Linked DNA regions of Homo sapiens: region 1 is linked to region 2. Evidence: promoter capture Hi-C in human tissues and cell types (Jung and others, 2019). All regions are on one chromosome and are shown on one strand. The core of a region is centred on a gene start or on the middle of the fragment in contact, and the rest is flanking DNA. Distances in the headings are between cores, read along the strand shown. Region 1 holds the start of CGB7 (chorionic gonadotropin subunit beta 7). Region 2 overlaps TRPM4 (transient receptor potential cation channel subfamily M member 4).

The links. The method cuts DNA at HindIII sites, captures the fragments that hold promoters and counts their contacts. A contact is called where the count stands out against the background at its distance.
Region 1: the fragment with the promoter of CGB7 here is called in contact with a fragment that was not itself captured in region 2 in 3 of the 25 tissues and cell types used here (dorsolateral prefrontal cortex, lymphoblastoid cells and mesendoderm cells).

The regions. Positions count from the first base shown.
Region 1 is chr19:49,056,499-49,062,475 of GRCh38, forward strand. CGB7 (chorionic gonadotropin subunit beta 7) reads right to left here and starts at 1,251. Exons shown (of 5, transcript NM_001385261.1): 1 at 964-1,251; 2 at 623-750; 3 at 1-97. NTF4 (neurotrophin 4) reads right to left here. Exons shown (of 2, transcript NM_006179.5): 2 at 4,630-5,511. The coding sequence starts at 5,499. The coding sequence ends at 4,867. It also overlaps the pseudogene LOC124904739. RefSeq lists an enhancer at 1-531. The HindIII fragment of the contact is 5,956 bases long and covers 1,156-5,977 here.
Region 2 is chr19:49,196,998-49,201,881 of GRCh38, forward strand. It overlaps TRPM4 (transient receptor potential cation channel subfamily M member 4), which reads left to right. Exons shown (of 25, transcript NM_017636.4): 18 at 3,303-3,435; 19 at 3,614-3,788. Among named protein-coding and RNA genes, the nearest start is that of TRPM4, 42 kb to the left of the region's middle. RefSeq lists a silencer at 1-88. The HindIII fragment of the contact is 7,245 bases long and covers 1-4,884 here.

The sequences.
Region 1 (5,977 bases), core at 1-2,500, 140 kb before region 2:
GGGCTGCCGCTGCGGGTCGTGACTCCAGAGTTGGGGCGTCTCTTCTAAGCTCCAGTAGGTCAGGTAGTCCTTGCGGGGGTATCCGGACGGCTCCGTCCTGTGGGAGCAGGGCGGGATGGTGAGGATACAGCTGGATCCTTGGGGACGAGTTTCAGACCTCGGGATCTAAGGAGTCTGCACATTCAAACTCCTGCATTTCCAGGCGAGCACCCCTTAGGAAGGACGCGACCGGGCACGCGTTGCCTGCGTTCCTGGGTCCTCGAGGTACTTAACGTCCTGGAAGCTGAGCTTTCGCATCCTAGGGAAGGAAACGGGGGCTTTCGCTTCCTTGCGAAGGAGCATGTGGGGGCTCAAGTACCGAAGGAGGCCCTGCCCTCAGATCCAGAATCCCCTCGAGCCGCTGTGCAGGCTTCCTGTCCCTACCGCGGTTCCTGGAGGTGACACTAAGGACTCCTGGGTGCTAAAAGAGGGAGGGGCTGGGGTCTGAACTGTGGTTGTTGCTGCTATAGGAGTCGAGACTGAGACCACCGGTCAGGGAATGGGAGCCAGCCCAGGGGCTCGGCGTGCACCGGCCATGGCGGGGGCTGTGCAGGAGGCGGTGCCGAGCGAGAGCCCGGCTTACTTGGGATAGAACCGAAAGTCCCGCGCCGAGGTGGTCAGATAGAGCTGGCGGCGGTTCAGGACGCCCCGGTCGGATACTGTGAAGGGTGGGCCAGACAGCGCGGGGTTCTTCGTGCAGGCGATTAGAGCCTGAGCAAGATTGGGGGAGGAGGCATACCCAAGACATAGATTTCATACCCCATCCCAAGTCCTGGGTCCCGAGTTCAGAATCCCTCTCCTTCGGCCTCGACAGCCATGACGGCCACGGCCCTCACACCCCGCCCCAGGGTCAGAGCCCTTCCTGCCACCCACGCCAGGGAACTTCAGCTTCCTTTCTCATACCCGAACCCTTCCCAGCCTCACCTCCCTAAATCCAAGCCCTCCTGCTGGTCAAGGAACTCAAATGCAGGCCCCCAGCCACCACAAAATCCCCCTGGTTCTGCCCCCGGTCTCAAGCCTTCTTGGTGTGGCCACTGGAGCTGAGCTGCATCTTGGGCAACAACTCCAGGTTACCTCTCCTAACTCCCACCCTACCACGTCTCAGAATATTCTAGTCTCCTCCCCACCCACAGCCCGCCGTCTAGCTCCGCAGCAGCTTAGGAGCCCTGAAGGCGAGTTTCCAGCCCCTGGTCCTTCTGGCCTGGCGTGGATGCCCAGCCCTTCCTCCCGCTCCTCTAACCTCCCGATCCCGCCCCAGATCCTTTAGCCACGCCCCAAAGCTGTGATTTCCTTCTGGCCCCGCCCCAGGCTCCCGGAGCTCCGCTGGTCTCGCCAGCGCCGGCTTCCACCCAGACACCTGGGAAGGCCCCCCGCGGTGGTGGTCCGAGAGTTGTGAGGGGCTGGGGCCCGACGTATTTGGGGGCGCGCGCGTCCGGGCCGGGAGAGCAAGTGTACTGCGCCCTCGTCTCGCTGCTCTGGTACTTTGTGGTCAGTAGGAGGGTTCAGCTGCGGTGTCTGAGCTGCGGAAAGGCAACCCAGAGACTCATGTGAAGGAGCAGGGGACTCAAATGCAGTCCCCCGCAGACTCCGGCGCTCCCCAAATCTTACCTTTTCTCCTGAATCCTTGATCCCCACAGTCCGCGTGGGGTCTGCAGGCTCTGGGGCTCTGGGCTGGGCGCAGGGCCCGCCATGGGTCTTGGGCACGTAGGCCGAGCCAGAGGTTGTCTCCCATCTGCTGAGGACCTCGTCGAAAGCCCAGATGCGAGAATCCTGCTTTGCAGTCGGAGGTAGAGGGTCCGCGACCGTGGACTGGAGAGAAGGCGCCGCACATCAGCTAGAAAGACTCAGGAGTCCCTATCACCCCCCACCCCAAACTCTGACCTCTTCCAGTCGGCCCCCAGCCCTTTCCTCTGCAGTCCCTGGCATCCAAATTCCCTGGCGCCTCCTCTCTCAGACCCAGGACTCCAGGACCCTCCTCCTTCAGAGAGGAGTCCAAGCTCCCAATCCCCTTTTCTCAGCCCCCATCTTTCTGGGTCCCCAGGCCCCGCAGGGCTTCAGCCTAGGGTCTGCCCACCTGCACCGTGGGCGGGGGGAAGGGTACGGGTGGGATAATGCCATGGGTAACGTAGCTGCTGGTGAGATGCCAGTTGGGCCAGGATTCAGGCATCTCGGTTGCAGAGATGAAAGACCACGGGGGGCCACAGCGCACAGCCAGGGTGCCACTGGCCATGGTTCCACCCCCTCCCTGTAGCCAAGCAGGAGCTGGTTTGTTGCTGTTGCCCCAGGTGACAGAACCCGCCCACCCCAATCCAGCCAATGAAAGGCCTGCAGGCACATGGATGGATGGAGTGATTAAGAGACCCAGAGACAGAGAGACAGGGACTCCAAGAGGGGCACAGAGAAACACGGAGTGGGGGATGGAGAGTCAGAAAGAGGCGGACAGAAGGGGATGGAGAAGTTCAGGATTTCAGAGACCCAGGGGGTGGGGGAGACAGAGACACAGAAAGAAGGACAGAGACCTGGGGGTGTCAGAGATACAGACAGAGACCCCTGCACTGCCCCCAGCACCTCAGGACATCCATGAGAAACACCCCCCTTTGCTCCAGGGTCCAGAACCTCCTGGCTGCTTCCTCCCTCTGCCAGGCCTGCCCACCTCGGGGTAACGATTTCCAGATGTCCCCGGGGCTCCCCAACCCTTCCCGCACGTGCTGAAGGAGTCAGCGCTGGTGTCAGCTGTCCTGCCTGCCTTTGATTTGGTTGAAAACTTCCACCTGGGTAGGCTGGGTGGGGAAAGAGAAAGGGATCTAGAGAGAAGTGCACCGGACCATAGCGAAAAAGATGGGCTTTGATGAGTGAGGAATAAATACAACAAGAAAGGGGAGAGACAGGGAGGAAGAAAGAGACCACGATGGAAAGGGAGCTATTAGTACTACCCAGAGGCGACAGACACTGGAAGTTAGAGACAGAGATGAAGGTGGCAAAAACGACCAAAGTCACAGATGGAAAACAAGGAGACGTAGAAACTGAGGCAGCCACGCCCCACCCTGCCCAGGGGCCTGGTCTGTATAGATGCGGGGAGAAGTTGCCTATGTCCTTTGCTCAAAGCTGGACCTGAGAGAGAGAGAGAGAGTTGGTGGGGCGATGGGTAACATGTGAAGGGCTATTGTGAAGGCCTGTGGTCTGTCCCTGGCTTCCCTTGTCACTTCTTCACTATAAACAGCTTTTGATCACCGGGCGCAGTGGCTCATGCCCGTAATCCCAGCACTTTGGGAGGCCGAGGCATGCGGATCACTTGAGGTCAGGAGTTTGAGACCAGCCCGGCCAACATGGCGAAACCCTGTCTCTACCAAAAAATACAAAAAGTAGCCGGGCGTGGTGGCGCACACCTGTAATCCCAACTAAGGCAGAAGAATCACTTCAACCCGGGAGGTGAAGGCTGCAGTGAGCTCAGATCACACCACTGCACTCCAGCCTGGGTGACAGAGCGAGACTCCATCTCAAAAAAAAAAAAAAAAAAAAAAAAAAAAAAAAAGCTTTTGGTCAAGGCCTCTGACTGCTCAACCCCCATTATCTCATCCTACCAGCCCATTCTGCAGACAAGGAAAACTGAGGCTACTTTCTGCAGCCATGCCCAGGATCCCACTTACCCCTCCTCCCCCATTCAGGCTTCTGGGGCCTTTCTGTTGGATTTTGCTGGCCCTACTCAACAGCTCTCAATGGACAGTGACCCCCTGATCCTAGCCAGGGGGCCGATGAGTTAGTCAGAAACTCATGCCCCACTCAAGCTGGACAAAATTTTTTTCTTTTTTTTGAAATGGAGTTTCGCTCTTTTTGCCAAGGCTGGAGTGCAATGGTACAGTCTTGGCTTACTGCAACCTCTGCCTCCTGAGTTCAAGCAATTCTCCTACCTCACCCTTCAGAGTAGCTTGGATTACAGGCATCCGCCACCACGACCAGCTAATTTCTTTATATAATTTTAGTAGAGTCGGGTTTTCACCATGTTGGCCAGGCTAGTCTCGAACTCCTGACCTCAGGTGATTCACCCACCTCGGCCTCCCAAAGTGCTGGGATTACAGGAATGAGCCATCGCACCTGGCCATCAAGCTGGAAAATTTTAAGGTCTGTTTCTTTCCCAATGTAGAGTAAAGGTTGGGACAGGGAAGAGGGCTAGAAACCTGACTTCAGCTCCCTGCCGAGGGCTGAACTCTCCAGCATCCTGATCACTTCTCATTCAACCTTGCTTGTACTCCTCTGTGATCGGTAGCTTATTACCTCAAAACAGAATATTCTAAGTCAACCTTTGCCCCCTCTTACCAAGTAAGATTTCCCATTTGAACCCCATCTCCCAGATACTTAAAGGCCTTCTGTGGGCCACGTTCTCAAGGTCCCCTGGCCATCTGCTTGCCTGTTCTAGTTTCTCTCCTCCTCCACCCACATCGTGAAATGTCCCCTCCCACTCCCCAGCAAGGTGGTGTCCTCTGAGACTGAGTAGTCAGCAACTTAACACCAAGGGCCACCAATGATCAAATCCATGAGAGTTGATCTGAGGAGTTATGTATTAGGGATAAGAAACAGTAAACACTCAGTAAATAGTGGCTATTATTATTATATCATCATCATTATTACCCTCAAGTTGCTCCAGGAGAACTCCTATTCAACCTCCAAAACCCCATGTGGTTTCACCCATCCTGCAGAGATTGAGCTCAAAATCAGAGAATTGTGATTTTGTGATTATTTGATGAGTTCCCAAACTGGGGTCCTTAGATCAGCTGGGCCATCCCTGAGGTCTCTCAGCATCCAGCTCTGTTATTTTCCTGGGCATGGGTCTCAGGCCCGGCCAGTCCGGCTGAGGAGTGTGCAGACGCAGGCAGTGTCAATTCGAATCCATCGCCAGCCCACACGGCCCTGGGCATCAGCGGTCAATGCCCGCACATAGGACTGCTTGGCCTTGCACTCAGATACCCAGTGCCTCCTGTCCACTCCCCGGCAGCCCCCTCCACCTGCCCCCGGGCCACCTTCCTCAGCGTTATCAGCCTTGCAGCGGGTTTCAAAGAAGTACTGGCGGAGGGGACTGCCGCCAGCTGCAGGCACCTCGCCCAACACCTCCACCTCGCGCCCACGCAAGTCCACAGCGGTCCGGCGGTCTGTCACCCAGCCACTGACTGCATCGCACACAGCCAGCTCACCCCGACGACTCGCTGGTGCAGTTTCGCTCACCCCACGCCGGCTGCGGTTGGCCGGGGCACCTGCTGACTCCCGAAAGGCCCCAGCCTCCAGCAGGAAGAGCAGAGGGGGCCCAGCAGGGGCACCCCTAGACAGGACTACTCGGGGGGAGAGAAGGTCCCACTCAGGGGCCAGAAAAGGGGGCAATGTTGAGGGTGGGGGTTGGGACTCAATTGGCACACTGGGGAGGAGGAAAAGGAGGAGGATGGGGAGGGAGCATGAGGGGAGAGGGAGCATCTCTCGGAGCACCTGGAGACAGAAAGAGGGAGGCTGGGATTAGAGAAGGGGGTAAAAACTTCAGTGGGGAAAGAAGTTGGGAACCCCAGGGGAGGCTTGCCTGCCAGGATTGTGGGGAAGCCCTTGTTCTAGAAGTTTGGGGGACCCTATATCTAGGGCTTGCGTAATGCGCAACTTGTAGATTAATAATAAATATTCAACTACTACAGGCCAGGCACTGTGCCCCACACCTCTAATCCCAGCACTCTGGGAGGCTGAGGCAGGTGGATGACTTGAGGTCAGGAGTTCCAGAGCAGCCTGGCCAACATGGTGAAACCTCATCTCTACCAAAAATACCAAAATTAACCGGGCATAGTGCTGCACGCCTGTAATCCCAGCTACTCAGTAGGCTGAGGCAGGAGAATCACTTGAACCCAGGAGGCCGAGGTTGCAGTGAGCAGAGAGTGCACCACTCCCCTGCCACCTGGGCGACAAGAGT
Region 2 (4,884 bases), core at 1,254-3,753:
TGAGAACCCCTCTTAGGAAAGTCGGGCATGACGATTGCCCCAGGGTAATTGGCTGGCACCTGGAGATCTGGCTTCAGGGACGGCAGGATTCAGGAGAAAACCCCACTGTCCGCCACTCAGCCTCTGCTGCTATTTATTGCTAGGCCTGAAGTTTAACAGATATTTATGGGAGCGCCCCGACCTGGGTGCCAACCTCACCTCCTCCCTTCTCTTCCTCCACATAGCTCGTTGGTCCCAGGCCCCTTGCCCTCCTGCCCCCGACTTTTTCTTTCTTTCCTTTTTTTTTCTTTCTTTCTTTCTCTTTCTTTCTTTTTCTTTCTTTCTTTCTTTCTTTCTTTCTTTCTTTCTTTCTTTCTTTCTTTCTTTCTCTCTCTTTCTTTTCTTTCTTTCTCTTTTCTTTTCCTTTCTTTTCTTTTTCTTTTTCTCTTTTCTTTCTCTCTCTCTCCCTCTGTCCTCTGCCCCTCTGCCTCCCTCCCTCCTTCCTTCCTTCCTTCCTTCCTTCCTTCCTTCCTTCCTTCTATGCTTCCTTCCATCCCTCCAAGCTAAGGGTTTAACCCTTGCCCTGCCTGCATTATGGAGTATCCTGCATTAGGATACTCCTCCTTTTGAGGAGAGCAAACAGAAAAGTTTGTGGATACAACCTGGTGACTGGTTTTTTGTTTGTTTGTTTGTTTTTGTTTTCTTTCTTTTCTTTTTTTTTTTTGAGCCAGAGTTCCGCTGTGTCGCCCAGACTGGAGTGCAGTGGTACGATCTTGGCTCACTGCAACCTCCACCTCCTGGGTTCAAGCGATTCTCTTGCCTCAGCCTCGTGAGTAGCTGGGATTACAGGCATGCACCACTACACCTAGCTAAATTTTTTTTGTATTTTTTTTGTAGAGATGGGGCTTTGCCATATTGACCAGGCTGGTCTTGAACTCTTGGCCTCAAGTGATCCACTGGCCTTAGCCTCTGAAAGTGCTGAGATTACAGATGTGGGTCACCGTGCCTGGCCAACAACCTGGTGACTGTTTACAAGGGACCTGACACATCCTGAATGGTTGACAGTGATGACAGTGATGATCCCTACTCAAGCTTTTCCCAGTAGACACGCTGAGAGGCAGGCTTCCTCTAAGCTATGTTAGCAGTGTTACAAAGTGATTCAACATAAATAATTTATTCAAGCAGGGAGCAAGATATGAGAGTTTTGCAGAACACTAATACTTCTGTTTGTAATTTGTTGTATTTTGTATAAAGTGACTTTTGAGATGAAAGGGCTAAGGCCATATGCTACCATGCTCTAGGATTGCCAGTGATATTTTGGACAGTTTATCAAGCCTACCACTTTCCAGGTGAAAAATGGAAAGATCTCAGCTTAAAAGGGAGAAACGGGCCTGGCGTGGTGGCTCATGCCTGTAATCCCAGCACTTTGGGAGGCCGAGGCGGGTGGATCACCTGAGATCAGGAGTTTGAGACCAGCCTGCCCAACATGGTGAAACCCCATCTCTACTAAAAATACAAAAAATTAGCCGGGCATGGTGGCAGGCGCCTGTAATCCCAGCTACTCGGGAGGCTGAGGCAGGATAATTGCCTGAACCTGGGAGGCGGAGGTTGCAGTGAGCCAAGATCATGCCACTGCACTCTAGCCTGGGTGAAAAGAGCAAAACTCTGTCAAAAAAAAAAAAAAAAAAAAAAGGGAGAAATGTCTAATCATCTCCGGAATTGAATGGATGAATCATCCTTTGTTTCGCCAGTTCCCTCTAGATGGACATTTAGGTTCTCTCTTTCTTTCTTTTTTTGTTTTAAATAGAGACAGGGTCTCACTCTGTTGCCCAGGCTGGTCTCAAACTCCAGGGCTCAAGCAATCCTCCCACCTTGGCCTCTCAAAGTGCTGGGATTACAGGCGTGAGCTACTATGCTCAGCCTTCTGTTTTTTTATTATTCCAAAATAATAAAAGTTTACATCCCAGATGTAAAGTTTATGGGTCAAAGGGTACATTTATTTTTGACATGGATAGATTTCCTTCTAAGTAGCTTCACTCATTTCCACACCTGCCATCAGGGTAAGAGAGTGCCCCCTTGAGGCCATGCTCGACAATGCCTGATACTTTCACTCTAAAATGTAGCTCTCAATTTAACTGAAAAAAAATTTGCCAATTTAATGGGTAAACATGACCTCTCCTTGTTATAATTTATGCACTCTTGACTACCAGATAGGTTGGACATCTTTTCCTAAGCTTAATGGCCATATGTCCTTGTGCCCCCTTGTTTTTTTTTTGGTTTTTGTTTTTGTTTTTGTTTTTGAGACGGAGTCTCGCTCTGTAGCCCAGGCTGGAGTGCAGTGGCGCGATCTCGGCTCACTGCAACCTCCGCCTCCCGGGTTCACGCCATTCTCCTGCCTCAGCCTACTGAGTAGCTGGGACTACAGGTGCCTGCCTCCACGCCCGGCTAATTTTTTGTATTTTGTAGTAGAGACGGGGTTTCACCGTGTTAGCCAAGATGTTCTCGATCTCCTGACCCCGTGATCCGCCCGCCTCGGCCTCCCAAAGTGCTAGGATTACAGGCGTGAGCCACTGCGACCGGCCACCCTCCCGTTTTTTTAATTGGGGTTCATTGATTTGTATATGTATAAATGTATATACTCCTTATACTCTGGATCCTAATCCTCGGTAGTTTTGTTGGTCTTAATATCTTCATATCTTCTCGAAGTCTGTGGCTTGTCTTTTCACTTTCACTTTTGTATGTTTCTTTTCTTTTCTTTTTTTTGAGCCTGCCTCGGCCTCCCAAAGTGCTGGGATTACAGGCGTGAGCCACCGCGTCTGTCCATACACTAGGTTTTTAATCCATCCAAAGTTTAAGTACATGAGGATGCAAAATAGGGGTAGAATTTTTATTTTCCCCATAGGAATTATTGATGTTTACTGGCCGTTTGAACGTCCTCTGTGAATTGTACGTGGTATCCTTTATCTGGCTTCCTTCCTTTTGCGTATTAGTTTGTAAGGACTCTATATGTTTTGCCTTTTATAGGTTGGACAGATATTCCGGCAGTTTTTCCAGCTTGATTCTTACAGGGACCAGCTCTTTGCTAAGGCCATCGTTCATTCAGTCATTACTTAATAGGCGCAGCCATTTTAAAAATGGGTGCCAGGGCCCTGCATGGACCAGCTTGGTACTGAATAAATTTGAGTAAACCCCGGGTGACTGGGAGGGTCCTGGTCCTGCCCGGTGGAGGCTGCAGCTTCCTCTGAAGGATGGCATTGGGAAGACTTCCATTTTCCTTGGCGTCTTGTGACACTTGACCCTTGTGGCATCTCCCCACACCCCAGGCTGACCCCGGGTTTGTACCACCTGGGCCGCACTGTCCTCTGCATCGACTTCATGGTTTTCACGGTGCGGCTGCTTCACATCTTCACGGTCAACAAACAGCTGGGGCCCAAGATCGTCATCGTGAGCAAGATGGTGAGGCAGGGGCGGGGCCAAAGTGGGCGGGGACATAGGGAAAGGGGTGGGGCCAGGGAGGGAGTGGTCCGTGGAGAAGGGGCGTGACTTTGGGGAGCAATGGGGCGTGTTTTTGGGATATAGGGGTGGGGCCAGAGTAGGAAAGGGCGGGGCCAGACTCAGCCACATCTCCCCACAGATGAAGGACGTGTTCTTCTTCCTCTTCTTCCTCGGCGTGTGGCTGGTAGCCTATGGCGTGGCCACGGAGGGGCTCCTGAGGCCACGGGACAGTGACTTCCCAAGTATCCTGCGCCGCGTCTTCTACCGTCCCTACCTGCAGATCTTCGGGCAGATTCCCCAGGAGGACATGGACGGTAGGGGGGATGACGGCCTGACAGCCTTCCTCTGAGTCTCTGTCCCCGCTCCCTGGGTCTCTGTCCTCCTGGCTCTAAGAAAATATCTGTCTCTCTGAGTCTCTGTCTCCCTCTTTCTCTGGATCTCTGAGTGATACCCTATATTCCCCATCATCATCTCTCTGGGTCTCTGCCTACCCCACCCCCTCTGTCTTTCTGTCTGTCTTTCTTTTTTCTTTTTTTTTTTCTTTTTTTTTGAGATGGATGTTAGAAATGTTTATTTTGTGGTGTCGTAAAGAAATAGTACTTGAACATAAATTTAATTTTTTTAGTAAAGCCATTTTTATTTTTTGTAGAAAGGGTACACTCGCCAGCAGTTTTGTCATGAGAGTACACGGAACAAAGGAGATAGGGTCATTTATAACCTGACGCGTCTATTTTACTGCTGTGTCTGGTTTTTATTGGCTGGAACCGGACTTTACATTTTGTATTTGTCTTGATTGGCTAGTAACTTAGAAGTTTTTAAAAGAAGCGAAGGCAGAGGAGAACAAAGGAAGGAGGAAGTAACTTGTGGAATGTTGAGAAAGGTAAAAACACTTTTAAATAAGGAAGAGGAACAGGCTATGATCTAATGCTTGCTTGAACCAGTATAAGTATGTCAGGGCAAATATTTAGGCTAAATTGTGAGAGCTAAGAACATAAAGTACATTGATTTATTTTTTATGGCTAGTAGATATTTAAGAATGTTAGCACAGGTGTTTGAATAAATTTTGTTTCTAAGAGAAGTTACTATTTATTGTTAATTAGATGGGGAGGAAAGTCTTTGAAGAGGAACCTGTACTTTACTTTTTACATGGAGTTTTGCTCTTGTTGCCCAGGCTGGAGTGCAATGGCACGATCTCAGCTCACTGCAACCTCCACCTCCCAGATCGAAGCGATTCTCCTATCTCAGCCTCCCGAGTAGCTGGGACTACAGGCGCGTGCCACCACGCCTGGCTAACAGTTTTGTGTTTTTAGTAGAGATGGGGTTTCATCACATTGGTCAGGCTAGTCTCAAACTCCCCACCTCAGGTGATCCGGCCATCTCAGCCTCCCAAAAGTGCTGGGATTACAGGCG